Regions from separate parts of the Homo sapiens genome. Here region 1 is linked to region 2. Evidence: promoter capture Hi-C in 16 types of primary human blood cells and fetal thymus (Javierre and others, 2016). All regions are on one chromosome and are shown on one strand. Each heading gives the region's core, a stretch centred on a gene start or on the middle of the fragment in contact. The rest is flanking DNA. Distances are from core to core; before and after follow the strand shown.

The links. Contacts are between HindIII fragments. The CHiCAGO score rates a contact against its expected background, and 5 or more counts as called.
Region 1: a fragment that was not itself captured here is called in contact with the fragment with the promoter of OR4S2 in region 2 in 1 of 17 cell types (activated CD4 T cells); the score reaches 5.3 in activated CD4 T cells.

The regions. Positions count from the first base shown.
Region 1 is chr11:54,898,228-54,902,701 of GRCh38, forward strand. No RefSeq gene overlaps it. Among named protein-coding and RNA genes, the nearest start is that of OR4A5, 190 kb to the left of the region's middle. The HindIII fragment of the contact is 342 bases long and covers 2,319-2,660 here.
Region 2 is chr11:55,645,814-55,650,495 of GRCh38, forward strand. It overlaps OR4S2 (olfactory receptor family 4 subfamily S member 2), which reads left to right and starts at 2,514. Exons shown (of 2, transcript NM_001004059.3): 1 at 2,514-2,737. The HindIII fragment of the contact is 13,020 bases long and covers 1-4,682 here.

The DNA.
Region 1 (4,474 bases), core at 1,240-3,739, 750 kb before region 2:
ATTTTTGTCCATTCTATGAATGGACATTTGGGAGCTCATTGAGGCCCATTGTGAAAAAGTGAATATTCGACTTTAAAAACTAGAAATATCCTATCTGAGAAATTGATTTTTGACTTGTGCTTTCAACTTGCAGAGTTAAATCTTTCTTTGGATTCAGCCATTTGCAAACACTGTTTTTGCTGATGCTGCGAATGGAAGTTTTGGAGCTCATTGAGTCCAATGGTGAAAAAGTGAATATCCCAGGATAAAACTAGAAAGAAGCTACCTGAGAAACCCCTTTGTGAATGGTGCATTCATCTCACAGAGTTACAACTTTCTTTTCATACAGCAGTCTGGAAAAACCATTTTGGCAGAATCCATGAAGGGATATTTGGGAGTGCAGTGAGCCCTATGGTGAAAAAGGAAATACCTTCAGATAAAAACTAGAAAGAAGCTTTCTCAGAAAGCACTTTGTTATGTGTGCATTAAACTCTCAGAGTTACATCTTTCTTTTCATTCAGCTGTTTGGAAACACCGTTTTCATAGAATCTGCAAAGGGTTATCTGGGAACACATTGAGGCCTGTGGTGAAAAAGGAAATATCTTCAGATAAAAACTCTAAAGAAGCTTTCTGTGAAACTGCTTTGTGTTGTGTGCATTGTTCTCACAGATTTAAAACATTCTGTGGGTTCAGCAGTTTGCAAACAATGTTTTTTTCCTTTCTGCAAATGGACATTTGGGAGCTCATTCAGGCCAAAAGCAAAAATGCAAATATCCCAGGATAAAAACTAGAAAGAAGCTCTTTGAGAAACTGCTTTGTGATGTTTGCATTCATTTTGCATAGTTAAAGCTTTCTTCTAATTCAGCAGTTTGGAAACACTGTTTTCATAGAATATGCAAAGGTATATCTGGGAGCACATTGAGGCTTAGGGTGAAAAAGGAAATATCTTCAGATTAATCTGGAAAGCTTTCCGAGAAACTGATTTGGGATATATGCATTCACCTCACAGAGTTAAGCCTTTCTGTGGATTCAGCCATTTGCAAACACTGTTTTTGTACTTTCTGAGAATGGATTTTGGGGAGTTCATAGAGACCAATGGCAAAAAAAGGCAATATCCAAGGATAAAAATTAGAAGGAACTATCTGAGAAACCGCTTTGTGATGTGTGCATTCACTTCACAGAATTAAACTTTTTTATTCATTCAACATTTTGGAAACTCTGTTTTCGTAGAATGTAGTAGGTGATATCTGGCAGCACATAGAGGTCTATGGTGAAAAAGGAAATATCTTCAGATAAAAAACTAGAAACAAGAATTCTGAGAAACTGCTTTATGATGTGTTCATTCATCACACAGAGTTAAAACTTTCTTTGGATACAGCAGGTTAGAGATGATCCTTTGTCCATTTTGTGAATGGAAATTTAGGAACTTATAGAGGCCAATGTAAAAAAAGGGAATATCCCAGTATAAAAAGGAGATAGAAGCTATCTGAGAAACCACTTTGTGATGTGTACATTCTTCTCAAAGAGTTAACCCTTTCTTTGGATTTGGCAACTTGGAAACACTGTTTTTGTAGAATCTGTGAAGCAATATATTGGATCTCATTGAGGACAAGGCAAAAAACGGAATATCCTAGGATAAAAGCTAGAAAGAAGCATTCTGTGAATCTGCTTTGTGATGTGTGCATTCACCTCTCACAGTAAAACCTCTTTTTATTCAGCAGTTTGGAAACACTGTTTTGGTAGAATCTGCTAAGGGATAATTGGGAGCTCATTGAGGTCAAAGGCAAAAAAGGTAATATCCCAGGATTAATACTAGAAAGAACTCTTTGAGAAACCACTTTGTAATGAGTGCATTCATTTCACAGAGTTAAACATTTCTTTTCATTCAGCAGTTTGGAAAAACTGTTTTCATAGAATCTGTGCGGGGATGTTTGGAAACGCAATGGAGCCTATAATGAAAAAGGAAATATAACTTCAGATTAAAAGTAAAAAGAACTTTTCTGAGAAACTGCTCTCTGATATGTGCATTCATATCACAGAGTTCAACCTTTCTTTGGATTCAGCAGTTTGGAAATAGTGTTTTTGTAGAATCTGCAAAGGGACATTTGGGAGTTCGTTGAGGCCAAAGGTGAAAAAGTGAAAAGCCCAGGATAAAAACTAGAAGGAATTATATGTGAAACCACTTTGTGATATGTGCATTTATCTCTCAGAGTTAAACCTGTCTTTTCATTCAGCAGTTTGGAAACACTTTTGGTAGAATCTTGGATGGGATATTTCAGAGCGCATTGAGGCCTATGGTGAAAAAGGAAATGTCTTTAGATGAAAACTAGAAAAAAGCTTTCTGAGAAACTGCTGTGCAATATCTGCATTCATCTCACAGTATTAAAACTTGCTTTTGATTCATCAGTTTGGAGAAACTGTTTTTGTCCATTCTGTGAATGGACATTTAAGATCTGATTGAAACCAATGGCAAAAAAGTGAATATCCCAGGATACAATGTAGAAGAAAGATATCTGACAAACCGATTTGTGATGTGTGCATTCATCTCACAGAGTTAAACTTGTTTTATATTCAGCAGTTTGGAAACACTGTTTTTCGAAATCTGTGAAGGGATATATGGGAGTTCTTGGAGGCCTGTGGTGAAAAAGGAAATATCTTTAGTTGAAAACTAGAAAGAAGCTTTCTGAGAAACTGCTTTGTGATGTGAGCATTCATCTCACAGAGTTAAACCATTCTTTGGATTCAGCAGTTTGGAAACACTGTTTTTGTAGAATCTGAAAAGGGATATTTGTGAGCTAAGTGAGGCCAAGGAAAAAAAAAATACTATCCCAAAATAAAAATTAGAAGGAAACTATCTCAGAAACCACTTGTTATGTGTGCATTTGTGTCGCATACTTAAAATTTTCTTCTCATTCAGTAGTATGGAAACACACTTCTGTAGAGTCTGCGAATGGATATTTGGGAGCTCATTGGGGTCAAAAGTGAAAAAGCCAATATCCCAGGATAAAAACTAGAATAAGCTATCTGAGAATCCACTTTGTGATGTGTGCATTCATCTTACAGAGTTAAAAGTTTCTTTTCATTTAGCAGTTTGGAAACACTTTTTGGGAGAATCTGCAAAGGGATATATGGGAGCTCATTGAGGCTTATGGTGAAAAAGTAAATATCTTCATATAAATAGTAGAAAGAAGCTTTCTGAGAAACTGCTTTCTGATGTGTGCTTTCATGTCACAGAGCTAAACATTTCTTTGGATACCGTATTTTGAAAACACCAATTTCTGTCCATTCTATGAAAGAACATTTGGCAGCTCATTGAGGCCAATGATGAAAAAGCAAATATCCCAGGATGAAAACTAGAAAGAACCTCTCACCGCATTGTGATGTGTGCATTCATCTCACAGAGTTAAACATTTCTTTGGATTCAGCAGTTCGGAAACACTGTTATTTTAGAATCTGCAAAAGGATGAATGGATACATAACAAAGTGGTTTCTCAGATACTTTCCTTCTACTTTTTACCCTGGGATATTTGCTGTTTAGCCTATGGCCTCAATGATCTATCAAATATCTCGTCACAGATTCTACTGAAACAGAGTGTCCAAACTGCTGAATCCAAGGAAATGTTGAAATCTCTGAGATGAATACACACATCACAAAGTGGTTTCTCAGATAGCTTCCTTCTAGTTTTTATCCTGGGATATTCACTTTTTCTCTGATGGCCTGATGGCCACAATGAGCTCCCAAATATGTCTTCACACATTCTACAACAACAATGTTTCCAAACTGTTGAATCCAAAGAAAGTTTTAACGCTGTGAGATGAATGCACACACCACAAAGCAGCTTCTCAGAAAGCTTGTTTCTAGTTTTCAACTGAAGATATTTCCTTTTTACTATAAACCTCAATGTGCTCTGAAAAATCCCTTGCACTTTCTACAAAAACAGTTTTTCCAACCTGCTGAATGAAAATAAAAAATTAACTCTGTGAGATGAATGCACACATCACAAAGCAGTTTTTCAGATAGCTTCCTTCTAGTTTTTATCCTGGGATATTCGCTTTTTTGCCATTGGCTTCAATTAGCTGCAAAATGTCTATATGCAGAGTGGAGAAAAACAGAGTTTCTAAACTACTGAATCCACAGAAAGGTTTAACTGTATGAGATGAATGCACATGTCACAAAGCCATTTCTCAGAAAGCTTCTTTCTAGTTTTTATCTGAAGATATTTCCTTTTTCACCATATGCCTCAATGCACTCCTATAATACCTTCACAGGTTCTACAAAAACAGTGTTTCCAACTGCCGAATGAAAAGACAGGTTTAAGTATGTGAGAAGAAAGCACTCATCACAAAGCAGTTGCTCAGATTGCTTTCTTCTAGTTTTTCTCCAGGGATATTCACTATTTTGCCATTGGCCTCAACGTGCACCCAAATATCCAGTCACAGAATTGACAAAAACAGTGTTTCCATTCTCCAGAATGAAAAGAAAGGTGCAACTCTC
Region 2 (4,682 bases), core at 1,264-3,763:
AATATATACATGTGTCAAAAATCATCAAAGCATATACTTCAAAACATTGCACTTCCTTGTATGTAAATTTAATCTAGAGAAAACAATGTATTACAAAAAAGTGTTCATATCTATTGGTCTCAAGAAAAATATGGCTTTCAAATCCCACTTATAAGTGAGAACATGCCTTATTTGGTTTTCTGTTCCTGTGTTAGTTTGCTAAGGATGATGGCCTTCAGCTCCATCCATGCCCCGTCAAAGAACATGATCTCATTCTTTTTTATGGCTGCAGAGTATTCCATTGTGTATATGTATCACATTTTGTTTATCCAGTCTATCATTGATGGATATTTAGGTTGATTCCATGTCTTTGTTATTGTGAACAGTGTTTCAATGAACATATGTGTGCATGTGTCTTTATAATAGAATGATTTATATTCCTCTGGGTAGATACCCAGTAATGGGATTGTTGGATGGAATGGGATTTCTGCCTTTAGATCTCTGAGGACTCACCACATTGTCCTCCACAACGGATGAACTAATTTACACTCCCATCAATGGGATTATCTTTAAGAATGCTACGGCAAGTGAAAGAAGCAAGTTACAAAAAACTACATATTGTATTATTATTTTTATGTAAAAAAAAGTCCAGAGATGCCAATCTGTAGTAATAGAAAGTAGATTAGTGTTTGCCTAGAGCTGGGGGTGATGGTGTGAGAGAGGAATGAGGAGTGATTGCTAATGAGAATGGGGTTTCTTTTTGAGGGGACAAAGATGTTGTAAACTTAGATTGTGTTGATGGTTGCCCAACCCTGCTTATGAAACATCAATTAATTAAACTGTACACTTTAAATTGATGAACTACATAGTATATGAATCATATCGCAATAAAGCTATTATAATAAATGAATGTTAAATCTATTGACCGTTGCTGTGTATGTACTATTCTTATATCTTTTATTAATTTACTATCATTTTCCTATCACATGACATGTAGCTGTCTTTTTTAATCCAAGTGATAATTCTCATCAGATATCCTTCCTTTGCACACATTTCTGTTATAAAATATGAACATTAATATTCCATTATTTATATATTATATTTAGCATTTGTTCCAAAACATATTTTTAAACATCTCCTAGATCTCAAAGTACATTTTGCAAAGTAGGAATAGAAGATATACTGACTCGCCCCACTACTCATCTAAATAACTGAGCAGCAGAATAGGGATCTCCAAAGATGTTCACATCTTAGTCCTCAGAACTTATCAATATATTTTGTTACATGATAAGGTGATTAAGATTGTAGATAAAAATTAAGTTTGCTAGTCAGTTGACCTTAAAACAAAGATGTTATCGTGCACTATCCATGTGGGCTCAACGTATTCACAAGGTTTATTTAAAATGGGAAAGTGAAGCAGAATAAGTTAAATTTGAAGATGCTACACTGCCTGCTTTGGAGATGAAGGAAAGGGGCCATAAGGAAGCTGGTAGATTCTAGAAGCTGGAACAGAATGAGTTTTCCCCTACAGACTTCGGAAGGATTCATCCTTTCCAATGCCTTGATTTTAGCCCAGTGAGCCTCATTTTGGACTTCTCACCTGCAGAACTGTGAAATACTGACTTTGTATTGATTTAAGCCACTAAGTTTGTGGTAATTCATTGCAGCAGCAACAGGAAACTAACACACTAGCTTAATCATGATGAATGTTTCCACAAACCTGGGCATAATTGCTCTTTTACTTCCTACTCTTTATTTTTCACTCATTTCTTCTGCTAACTCCAGATAGTGAAAATATAAGTAGGATCTCTTGGACATTTTGGATGTTGTTTGAAATAAAGAAAAAGGTAAGATAAGGTAAGAAGAGTAAAGTAAAAAAGTCAAGCATGGGGAAAGAAACTAATAGAAATAGGAAGAGAAAAAGCAAGATTATTATTAGTTTTCGTGAGTCAACCTTAAGAATTTACAATATAAAAGTAAATGAATTAAATTCAACACCATACTTATTCCAAGCATAGGCCAAACATGAACCTTATCCCAGCTATTTCTCCATAAATCAGCATAGAATCAATTAAGAAGAAAAGCAATGTTCCCAAATAGCACAATCGAATATACTATTTTCTATTACAATATAGCTTTCAAGAAAGAACAATTACAATTCAATAAATAACATAAAACAGATATCTTAATATGTTATATCAAATATGGACTATTTAATGCATATAGTAAAGCATATTAATTCAAAAACAAGGTTTAGAATGATAAAATTATTACTTCTCTTGGCTGAATTGCTTTGGATTAGGGCTATAGTCGTTAATATGAGAATTGATCGGTTTTTGTATTTAGCAACAATTTTTAAAATTTAATTTTAAAAAATTGAACAGACACTAGAATTAAAGTTCATTGGTAGGGCTGCAATTTGATTTTGACTATGGAGGAAGACTTTGGGGAAAAGCTGTCTCCAAGGTCATTTATCATTTTGCATCTTCCTCTTTAAATAGACCTGTAAGAATAGAGAAAACAGCATTTATTGTCAAAGACCCTGTGAAATGGCAGGTATCATTAGGTGAGAAAACCAGGAACAACAAAGACTCATTTCTACCAGCCTTTCAGTTTGGGGGGTCAGGTATTTTCCGGTACTAATTATTCACAAAGGAATTCCCTAGGCATCACTGTTACTTTACCTTGGGAAGCTGCACCCAAATTAACTCAAGAAGAGATAGAAACATAAAGTGAACTCAAGCTCTGGAAAATACTGGTGAGATTTTTTTTTCTTTTCAAACGAATACAGAATATTTGTGGAAAAAGATAATTAAATTGTTAGATTTTGAACATTTATAAAATAATGGAAAAATATTGTTCTCTGAAATACAGAGAGAATGAAATTATTAAAATCATGATAGTAAGATAGTAACATGTACCTAAACATGACTGTGAGGAAGGGTAGGATGGACACAAATAAGAAAATGTCAATAATTTCAAAGGAAAGTGAGTCATTATGCCCAACATGCCCAGATAAAGGAGGAAGGCATCCTTGTGATGGATATTGGCTTAAGGAGAGAAACAGCAAGATGTTACTGCATCAGTTGGAGTCAAGAGAGGCCATGATTCAGAAGGTTAACAGCCTTTACTAGGATGCACATTCTGATAAATGGAACTTTAGATCTCAATCCTGCAATTAAGATAAATGAATACCTGAATAAAATAGATTGGTGAATGAAAAAAAAAATTCCTCTAGAACCTTGTGATATGGACGGTAGGGGAAAAAATCCTCAGGCTTGTGTGCAAAAGCCCAGTTTCTTCTAGATGAGAGCAAAGCAACATAAATAATTGTTGCTCAAAACTGCTATGTTGTGAGCTTCCTTAAGTTGAGGGGCTCTCTTAGTGGAGGATGGTATTTTTCTTTTAATTCAGCAGGATAACTGAAGAGGAATGAGCATGTAAAAGCAGGGGATGTGCTTGAGACTGTATCTAAATCATATTACTATTACTCTTACAATCATTATTTTGTAATGCACAAGAGATAGCACACCTGTAATGACTACTGTGCCAACTCTAACATGAATACCTGAAGAAACACAATCCTATAGATTCCCAAAAGCTGGAAGTATTAGGCACGACTTCACTGCATAAGGATAGCTGAGAGCACAGAGTTTAGTAGGAGTTGTCAGCATTCAGCTGGATGGATCTTGAGAGGATCTACAGGTCTCTGCTAGACCACCTGTAATTGGAGGGATCATTTACACCTGCGGTTGATTAGCGAAAGAATCCTAAAAGCTCCTTTAATCAAAACTATTACAGATACCCTTTTCCATCCATGTACCAATGACCCCATTGTAGTGCCTGAAATTTCACCAATGAATATTCATCCATTTAGATAAATGTCATTTTCCTAAACCCATTAAAATTGTCATTCAGTGATGATCTCTTCCAGAAATATAAATCGACCAAATTGGGAGAATGAATATGGCCAGAATAAAACTTGAAAGATTAGAAAGATGTATGAAGCAATGTTGACATTAAGGGACAGTCTTCTCTTTTTTACACCCATTTTCTTCGTTTCAGTTAATAGAAAAATGTTTAAAAATACAAAGCAAAGTCAGTCCTGGAAAATCCTAAAGTATTCTGAGTTTGCACATGGAGAAATTACATAAGACTTCACTCCCTCTCCTTTCAAATCAAACAGGTCTTGCTTTGTCTCTAGAAGTTTCTTTTATTGCTTTACCTTATTTCTGCCTTCCTATCAGGGTTTTATGAATATTTCATACTGACAGAAGTGATTTAAGTTCACGGCTGAAATAACTATTAATGTGATATGTAACAGTGAAATTGAAACTGTCATTTCACAAATGGGATAAGAGAATTTCTGTTAAGTTAAATAATTTACCTTGGGGGTTACAGTAGTATCATTTTAGAATCAATTTTGTGTAATTTTGCTCCTCTTTCTATTACCTCACACTACATCTTGACTATCAGGGCTCGAGACCACACTGGTGGAGGTGCATACATCATGTGCACAAAGATAGAGTTTCATGAGAAGAACTTGCAAAGGCAAGAGTGGTTAAACTTGCAGAGAAATTGCAGAATATTTGTGAGTTGATGTGATAATCAGGCATGGCAGTATTCAAAAGGTGAAATGTGGGCGTATGTTTTCACTTATGGGTCAAAAATAAAGCAATCATTTCCAGATATTTGCCAGTAGA